Regions from separate parts of the Homo sapiens genome. Here all the other regions are linked to region 2. Evidence: promoter capture Hi-C in 16 types of primary human blood cells and fetal thymus (Javierre and others, 2016). All regions are on one chromosome and are shown on one strand. Each heading gives the region's core, a stretch centred on a gene start or on the middle of the fragment in contact. The rest is flanking DNA. Distances are from core to core; before and after follow the strand shown.

Region 1 (2,700 bases), core at 196-2,695, 68 kb after region 2:
CAGTCTTCAGTATATCCTCAACACAGCCAAAGTCATCCTGTTAAATCAGGCTACCCTCCTACTCAGACCTCTCTGAAGGCTTCTAGTCTTGCCCAGAAGGCCCACAATATCCTACACAATCTGCTCCCATCTTACCTTTGTGCTGTCATGACCTGCTGCTTTCCTCCATACTTATGCAGCTTCTGCTAGCCAAATCTCCCTGCAGCTCCCTGAACGCAGTGAAGATACTCCCATCTCAATACCTTGGCAGTTGCTATTCCCTCTGCCTGGTACTTTATGGCTCAATCCCTCACCTTCTTCAGATCCTTCCTCAATGTCACCTTCTCACTGAAGTCTTCTTTAAAGATCTATTAAAGTTGTAAACCACCACCACCCCCAATATATCTATGTCGCTACTCAACTTTCTTTTTCTCCATAGCACTTTTCAAACTTAACATTCTAGTCTGGGTGTGGTGGCTCATGCCTGTAATCCCAGCACTTTGGGAGGCTGAAGCGGGGGGATCATTTGAGCCCAGGAGTTCAAGAACAGCTGGGCAACATAAGGAGACCTGGTTTAAAAAAATAAAAATAAATAAATAAATAAAAACTTGACATTCTATTATTTATTTTTATAGCATATTGTATATTTCCTGGTACTAGGGTACAATCTCCAGAAAGGCAGAAATGTGTACCTGACTTGTTGCTATATCCCCAGCATCTAGAATATGTTCTGGCACATAATAGGCTCGCAATTAATGCTTTTAAAAGAAATAAACACACAAATTTGTGATTAGAAAACATTCATGAAGCCTGCTGTTAGTTCTAGAGCAGCCACTAAAAGGATAGAAAAAAAGCTTACAATTTTAAAACTAGTAGAGAGAAAAAAACAATGACACAATTGTGTCAGTTTCCTAGGGTTGCCATAACAAATTGTCACAACCTAGGTGGCTTTTTAAGAAATTACTCTATTTCAGAGGTGAGAAGTCCAAAATTAAGGCATCAGCAGGACTGTGCTCTGTCCAAAGACTCTGCAGGAGGATCTTCTCTTGCCTCATCCAGCTTCAGGTAGAAAGCAATCCTTGGGTTTTTTGTTTGTTTGCTTTTGGTTTTGATAGAAATGGAGTTTCACTGTATTTTTTGCCCAGGCTGGTCTCAAACTCCTGGGCTCAAGCAATCATCCCACCTCAGCCTCCCAAAGTACTGGGATTACAGGTATGAGGCACCATGCCTGGCCAATCCTTGGTATTTATTGATTTGTGGCCACATAACTCCCTTCTCTGCCTCCGTCTTCATACAGCTGCCTTCCATCTGTGTGTGTTTCTGCATCTGTGTCTCTTCTCTTCTTATAAGGATATTAGTTATATTGGAATTAGGGCCCACCCTAATCCACTATAACTGCATTTTAAATAGTTGCATCTGCAAAAATCTCATTTCCAAATAAGGTCACATTCACAGGTACCTTGGATTAGGACTTTAACATACCACTTTAGGGAACACAGTTCAACTCACAATAGCAATCATCAGTCTTGGTCTTGAATTATGTCTATATTCATACAGAATGCTCAGCAATGCTATGATCTGAACATTTATGTCCTCTCAAATTCATATGTAGGTTTGTTAATATCCTGTTTAGAATTGTTGCATATACAGTCATGAGGGTGGTTGGCTTATAATTATCTTTTCTTGTGATACTCTTGTGAGATTTTCATATCAAGGTTATGCTGGATACATTGTTAGAGGAGCAGCCCACAAGACCACCCTCACTTCTGACACCGATTGCAAGGTTGGGGTCCCCCAATATCCTCCTCCTCTCTGACATTAATTGTCAGCTTGGGGGGACCCCAAGACCACCCGTGAGTTTAATAATTCACAAGACAAACTCACAGTGCTCATGGAAAGTTACGGTTTATTGCAGCTAAGAATACAGGTTAAAATCAGCCAAGGGAAGGGGTACATAGGGCAGAGTTCAGGAAAGCTCTAAACACAGAACTCCCAGTTGTCCTTTCCATGAGTTGTGGACAGTGTTAATTTCCTGACATCCAGTGTGTGATAATACTCGCAGAATATTGTCAACCAGGGAAGCTTACTCAGGCCAGTTTATTAGGCTCAATCACATAAATCTGGTCAGCTGCCCTCAGTCTCCTAGCCCTTGCAAAGTTTGAGCTGATACCACTGTTCTGGTGTGGGGTTTTCATGAGGTTGCAGTCACATGGTGGCTGGGGTTGGGATAATCTTTAAGACTCTTTCTCTAACATGTCCGATCCCTGGGTGGGCAGACTGAAACAGCTACAGAAAGAAGCATATATGGCTTCTTGGGCATCTTTCTACTTCTATATGATCTTTTCACATGGTCTCTCCAGCATAGCAGCTTCAGGATAGTGGACTTCTCACTTAATAAATCAGGATCCGAAGGCACAAGTCCTAAGAAAGAGAAAGCCAGGAAGAAGCTGTATCATTTTTTAGGATGCAGTCTCAGAGGTCACACTTCTGCCATATTCTTTTCATGAAAACTTAGTCACTAAGCCCGCCCAAATTTGGTGGGGTGGGGGGAATTACCAAAGAATTGGCAGGCTATATGCAGAATATGCCATATCAGTGAATTTTCTATGTCAGAATGATCTTTCCAAGGTGAAAAACAATACTGGGTCAGGGTTGGTCTCTGGATTTTGAAAGCAACACATATAACATGTGAGCCTGCTGCTTTCATCTAGGCCAATTTTA
Region 2 (2,700 bases), core at 69-2,568:
ACCTGTAATCCCAGCACTTTGGATGGGGGAGACCAAGGTGGGCAGATCACCTGAGGTCAGGAGTTCAAGACCAGCCTGGCCAACATGGTGAAACCTGGTCTCTACTAAAAATACAAAAATTAGCCAAGCATGGTGGCGCACGTCTGTAATTTCACCTACTCGGGAGGCTGAGGCATGAGAATCACTTGAACCCGGGAGGCAGAGTTTGTAGTGAGCCAAGATCACGCCACTGCACTCCAGCCTGGGTGACAGAAGGAGACTCTGTCTCAAAAAATAAATAAATAAATAAAAATTAAAAATGAAATAAATAAATTAATTCAATTAAATTAAATGCGGGATCCAGGTTTCAGAGCATCCTGGACCCCAGAACTGGAGAAAGAGGGGAGCAGCCCTCAGCTGGGATCCCCAGGAGTAAATGTTAGATGGCTCCATGCCTGGCTGACAGCTTTAGGTTTGCTGTGGAGCTTCCTCATATTGTCTCCTTCTTCTGCCCCAACCCTGCATGTCCCTAATAATTTCCAGGCTCCTGTGGCATCTGGATGGCTGAAGAAGCCGGGGAGATGAGGGACCATGCCTTCCAGCTTCTTCCTGGCTGCTGGCCTCGCCCTCCCCTCCCTGGGCTCAGCTTTCCTGCCTCAGGGGTCCATCCATCTGTCTCTGAGCTCGAGAACCACCCACTTCCTTGGGACTGCTTCTCTTCTCTCATGCCACAATTGGAGGATGCAATTTTCATCATCTTTACAGGCGGCTGGAAGGAGGCTTCTCTCTCCACTACACGGAAGGGTAAATTGAAGCCAGTGGGAAGGAATCTCCTCACCCAAGACTTCCTGGATTGCTGGTGGCAGGGCCAGATACCCCTCTCACAGACCTCCCAGTGCACTGCCAGCCTGTCCTGTCTGATTTAGACTGTCAGAGCTGTCAGGAGCTGCTCGGAGTCAAGTTCCAGATGACTGTGTATGTGGCACAAGCAGAGGCTCTGGCTCTGATCTCCCTGAGGGGCACAGCTCCTAGTCCCTCCCTCGCCCCACGCCAGGTAGGACCTCCTTACCTTTGCCCTGATACACCTTGAGGAGCAGGAGGAGTATGAGGGTGACCACTTGCCCCAGCATTTCCACAGGACAGAGGGGCCAGGCCAGCCCCTCCACCCCACCAGACTCTCTGCCGTGCACGGGCTCAGCAGTCCCCAGTCAGCAAGAGGACGATGGGGAGCAGAACTGCCTTGCAACCTGTCCAGCCACAGTTTCCTCAATTAGAGGCTGTTAACGCCTGCTGTGAGCTGACAAGGCCACTGAGAAAGCCCCAGCGCCTGGAGCTGGTCTGACAGTTCCCACAAGCCAAACTGGTGAAGCTTACCTCAAGTGGGAGGGTGCTTGAAGTTCACAGTGACTCACAAAGCCAGTTTCAAAATTGCATCCCGTTCTCTGCTTCAGCCCAAGAAGTCTTCCAATTCTCTGAATCCTATATGGAGAGACCCCCATGGGGGCCAAACAGCCAGTATCCCCAACTGTTCCATTCCAACAGACATTGTGGAGGTGGAGTGGAGAGGGGCTGGAGGAGGAGTGGGCTGAAACGTAGGGCCCTGGATAAGCGGCTAACAGTGTTGAAGGAAAGGAGGAGTAGCTGAGAGAACATAGGAAGAGACCTAAGGGCTGGAGGCACTAGAAAAATCTAGCAAGCCTGGGGATTCCATGCAAGTTGACACCAAAGTTTAAGCACATGTAAATTAAATTTGTTTCATAAGAATTTGTTTCACACGGGGCACAGTGGCTCACGCCTGTAATCCCAACACTTTGGGAGACTGAAGCAGGCAGATCACTTGAGATCAGGAGATCGAGACTAGCCTGGCCAATATGGTGAATCCCCACCTCTACTAAAAATAGAGAAATTAGCCAGGCTGGGTGGCGTGCACCTGTAATCCAAGCTACTTGGGAGGCTGAGGCAGGGGAATCACTTGAGCAAAGGAGGTGGAGGTTGCGGTAAGCCAAGATCACGCCACTGCACTCCAGCCTAGGTGACAGAGCGACACTGTGTCTCAAAAAAAAAAAAAAAAATTTTGTTTTGCTCCACATTTCCGATCTGTATGCCTAGATTCCCTCCCTTCCTCTTTTTCTACTTTTCTATAGTAGTCCTCTCTTCCCTCTTTTGTCTTCTCCCAGAAGTGACATGGGCCTATTTTTGCTGCCTTCCCATCCATGCTTGGACGCCACCCTCCAGGAAGGCCAGGCAGCTCTGGATCTGCTTAGGCCCCCATGGAGGGGTGGGGACAGCGGCATCCCCCCTCCCCTGGAACACTGTGCTTCAAGGCCAGGCCCCAGGGTTCATGCCTCTTTCTTTCTTCCTTCTGCTTTCCCCTTAACAAATACTTTCAGTTCCCTTCAAGTCCGCTCTTATTCTCTTTTTCCATCCTTTGGTCCATTTCCAGCCACCCTGTCTGAACTGGGCAGGGGGCAGCAGACTGACAGCTTCAGCTGCCAACAGAGGCAGCAGCGGGGCTCTGGACAGAGCGCTGGATTTAGAGTCAAAGACTTGGACTTGCAGCTCCCATTCAGCAACTTACAACCTATGTGATTCTGGCCTTGTTGCTGTCTGAGCCTGTAGGGTCAACAATACATCCTCCCCACCTTCACAAGGCAGTTTTCAGGATCAAATTAAAAATGATACTCCAGAATATGCACACAAAAAACACTGGACATAGATGAG
Region 3 (2,700 bases), core at 9-2,508, 110 kb before region 2:
CAACAACACAACAACTATGGGTTTTCAAGTTAGAAAATGTTATGACATCACAAATATAAAAAGTAGAATGCAAATTTAATGTGCTATATGATTACAGCTGTGTTTTAGAAAAAATCTCTACAGGGAAAAATTTGGAAGAAAAAACATCAAAATAGTAACACCAGTTGTTTAGGGAGGGTGAAAGCTTAGGTGGCTTGGTTTTTTCCTATTTTCATTCATTTTCTGAATATTCCTCAATGAGAAAGTATGTATTGCATAATAGAGTAGAGGAAATTTTAAATAGGTGCTCAGTGAGAAAAACGAGGCACTACTCACTACGTGGGGTTGAGGGGAAAGTCTGAGACCCTCATGGTAAGGGTGTGGGGGAGGATGGAAAGACCTCCTCGAGTGAGAATGGGTGGGGAGAAAGGAGAAACCCTCCACATAATGACAGAGGAGAAGATGACTTTCCCTCAGAGAGGGCTGCTGGAGGCTGAGGGGAGCTTCACAGTGTGTGAAGACAGAGGCGTGGAGAGGGGGATGCTGGGACTGAGGATGCATCTGTTCTGCCTTCCCCTCTCTCCTCAGAACCCATTCAGATGATAAATAATTAGGGTTAATCATACTTTGGGGTTTTTTAAACCAGTGACTGAAACAGGACCTAGGGAGACCAATAGATCTGGTCTCTGGACACTCAATAAATTCTGTCCCAAAGCTAGTTGCAGAAAGAAGCTTCCCCTCATGAGTTCAACCAGTAGGCAAAGGAAACCACCAGCTCTTCAGGGTGAGAAGTCACACCACCTCATAGCCCCATTACATGCAGCCTCCAGAACTGTGTGGTTTGCAACTTGTGAGGTGCAAATAACAAATTCGTAAACATTGAAACCTTGGTGGAAAGTAAAGAAGGTATCTGTACCATTTCAGTAAGGCTTTCACTCATTCATTTGATCATGTATGCATTCATTCATTTATTCATTCAGCAGTACTTATTGAGCACCAGTAAGTGCTGGACATTATGCTGAACTCAGGGAATACAGCAGTGGGCCACAACAGAGGTCTCTGCCCTCAGGGTGCTTACATTCTAATGACAGAGGCCAACACTCAAATATCCTTTAAATAACATGGTTGCAGTGATGACTGCTATGAAAGAGAGGTGTGTGGAGCCAAGAATGGCAAATTTTCCTGTGGTCAGAGACAGTATCTCCAAAGTGATGAAGACTGAGCTGAGATCGGAAGATGAGTAGGAGCTACTTACAAGAAGTGGGAAGGGAAAATAAAACCCTTCTAGCCAGAGGTGCAAAGGCCTTGTGGTGAGAGGACCTAAAAGAACGAAAGTCAGTGTGGCCAGCAGAGAGAGTTGCACTTTTAAAATTTCATTAGTTGCAGTATGGGAAACAGATTGTAGGGGGTCAAGACTGGATGTAGGCAAACTGAGTCAGAAGGCTCTTACCGTTATCCAGGAGAGAGGTGATGGTAGGTTGGACAAGCATAGTAGGATGCAGAGAGAGGGAAGGATGCTCTCAAGAGGTATCTAAGGGATAAGGAGGTTCCTGCTTTCAGTACTGTCTTGGGAATGTGTGCTGATCTGGAAAAGGAGGTGGGAAGATGGGCCTTTGCTTTTGATAGCCTCTTGGGACTAGAAGGACAAAGTTTGGAGTCTGGGGCTACCAAGGTTAGAGAACTGGTAAATCCCTCATCTTTTTGACTTGGGACCCCAAAAGACTTACCCTAGGAGACTTATCCTTCTTGTAAACAAGAAGTACACCAGTTTTAATTCATCTATGGGGCCAAGAAAATCTCAAAACTGGTATTAGATTAAAGAGATCCAAGCTTACGAGTGCCCACAAGTACCTTACAGAAGCAAACAAAGACCATCACTAAAAGAAAATAACATTCTTAGGCCTCACAATTTTCCTACAAATAATTTTTCATAAGCAATGTTCATCATATGTTCAGAGATATCCAGGCCCATGAGGAGGATCCAGGCCCATGGGGATCATCCTCCTCCATGAGGAGACCCATGAGCAAGACCCTCCTGGTGGGGACAGCCTATCACAGACTGCAGCCCAGGATGCAGCCCGGCCCACCTCCCTCTCATTTCATCCCAAGAAGATGGAAGGAGGAACTTCCAGCCTCCTCAGTTCATGTACTTGTAGACAGACTTTAAAGATGTTTGGAGTTCTGACTATAGTCCTAAGCATACTCTTTATTGCAATCTGTCAAGAACATAGCCAGCAACAGGGAAGAGTTGATAAACCATAACATGATCATTTATAATATTTAATGTTTAGTACAGTCACAATTGCCAATCATTGTTCTAAATAATACATATATATATGTGTGCATGTATATACATATGTACATTTATTTAATCTTCATAACAAACATAACCATTTTATAGATGAGGTAGTTGAGACCAAGATTGTCTTTTGTCTAATTGGGTTTTGTGGGTTGTTTTGTTTTGTTTTGTTTTGTTTTGTTTTGTTCGGCTCATATGTATTACTGCTCTAGGCAGTATTAATTAATTGATTAATTTATTTAAAATTTATTATTTTAAAATAAATGCTGGTACTGCTTGTCTTTACTAATTATAAAAGTTATTTTTTCCTGCAATTAAAACTTATTATGCGTCTACAATGTGCTCCCCATACTTCTAAGAGCTCACAATCAAGTGGGAGACAGGGATATCAACAGACATTACAAGTTAAAATGGTAGGTAAG

Evidence for each region. The method cuts DNA at HindIII sites, captures the fragments that hold promoters and counts their contacts. A CHiCAGO score of 5 or more calls a contact.
Region 1: a fragment that was not itself captured here is called in contact with the fragment with the promoter of CD244 in region 2 in 9 of 17 cell types (M0 macrophages, erythroblasts, M1 macrophages and 6 more); the score reaches 8.9 in M0 macrophages.
Region 3: a fragment that was not itself captured here is called in contact with the fragment with the promoter of CD244 in region 2 in 2 of 17 cell types (naive B cells and total CD8 T cells); the score reaches 5.1 in naive B cells.

Annotation. Positions count from the first base shown.
Region 1 is chr1:160,929,778-160,932,477 of GRCh38, forward strand. It overlaps LOC124904441 (a long non-coding RNA gene), which reads right to left. Exons shown (of 2, transcript XR_007066689.1): 2 at 1,869-2,400. It overlaps LOC101928372 (a long non-coding RNA gene), which reads left to right and starts at 2,688. Exons shown (of 6, transcript NR_110695.1): 1 at 2,688-2,700. The HindIII fragment of the contact is 1,228 bases long and covers 832-2,059 here.
Region 2 is chr1:160,861,569-160,864,268 of GRCh38, forward strand. It overlaps CD244 (CD244 molecule), which reads right to left and starts at 1,319. Exons shown (of 9, transcript NM_016382.4): 1 at 1,049-1,319. The coding sequence starts at 1,109. RefSeq lists an enhancer at 1,135-1,184. The HindIII fragment of the contact is 2,100 bases long and covers 1-1,346 here.
Region 3 is chr1:160,755,784-160,758,483 of GRCh38, forward strand. No RefSeq gene overlaps it. Among named protein-coding and RNA genes, the nearest start is that of SLAMF7, 18 kb to the left of the region's middle. RefSeq lists a silencer at 1,309-1,378. The HindIII fragment of the contact is 1,098 bases long and covers 710-1,807 here.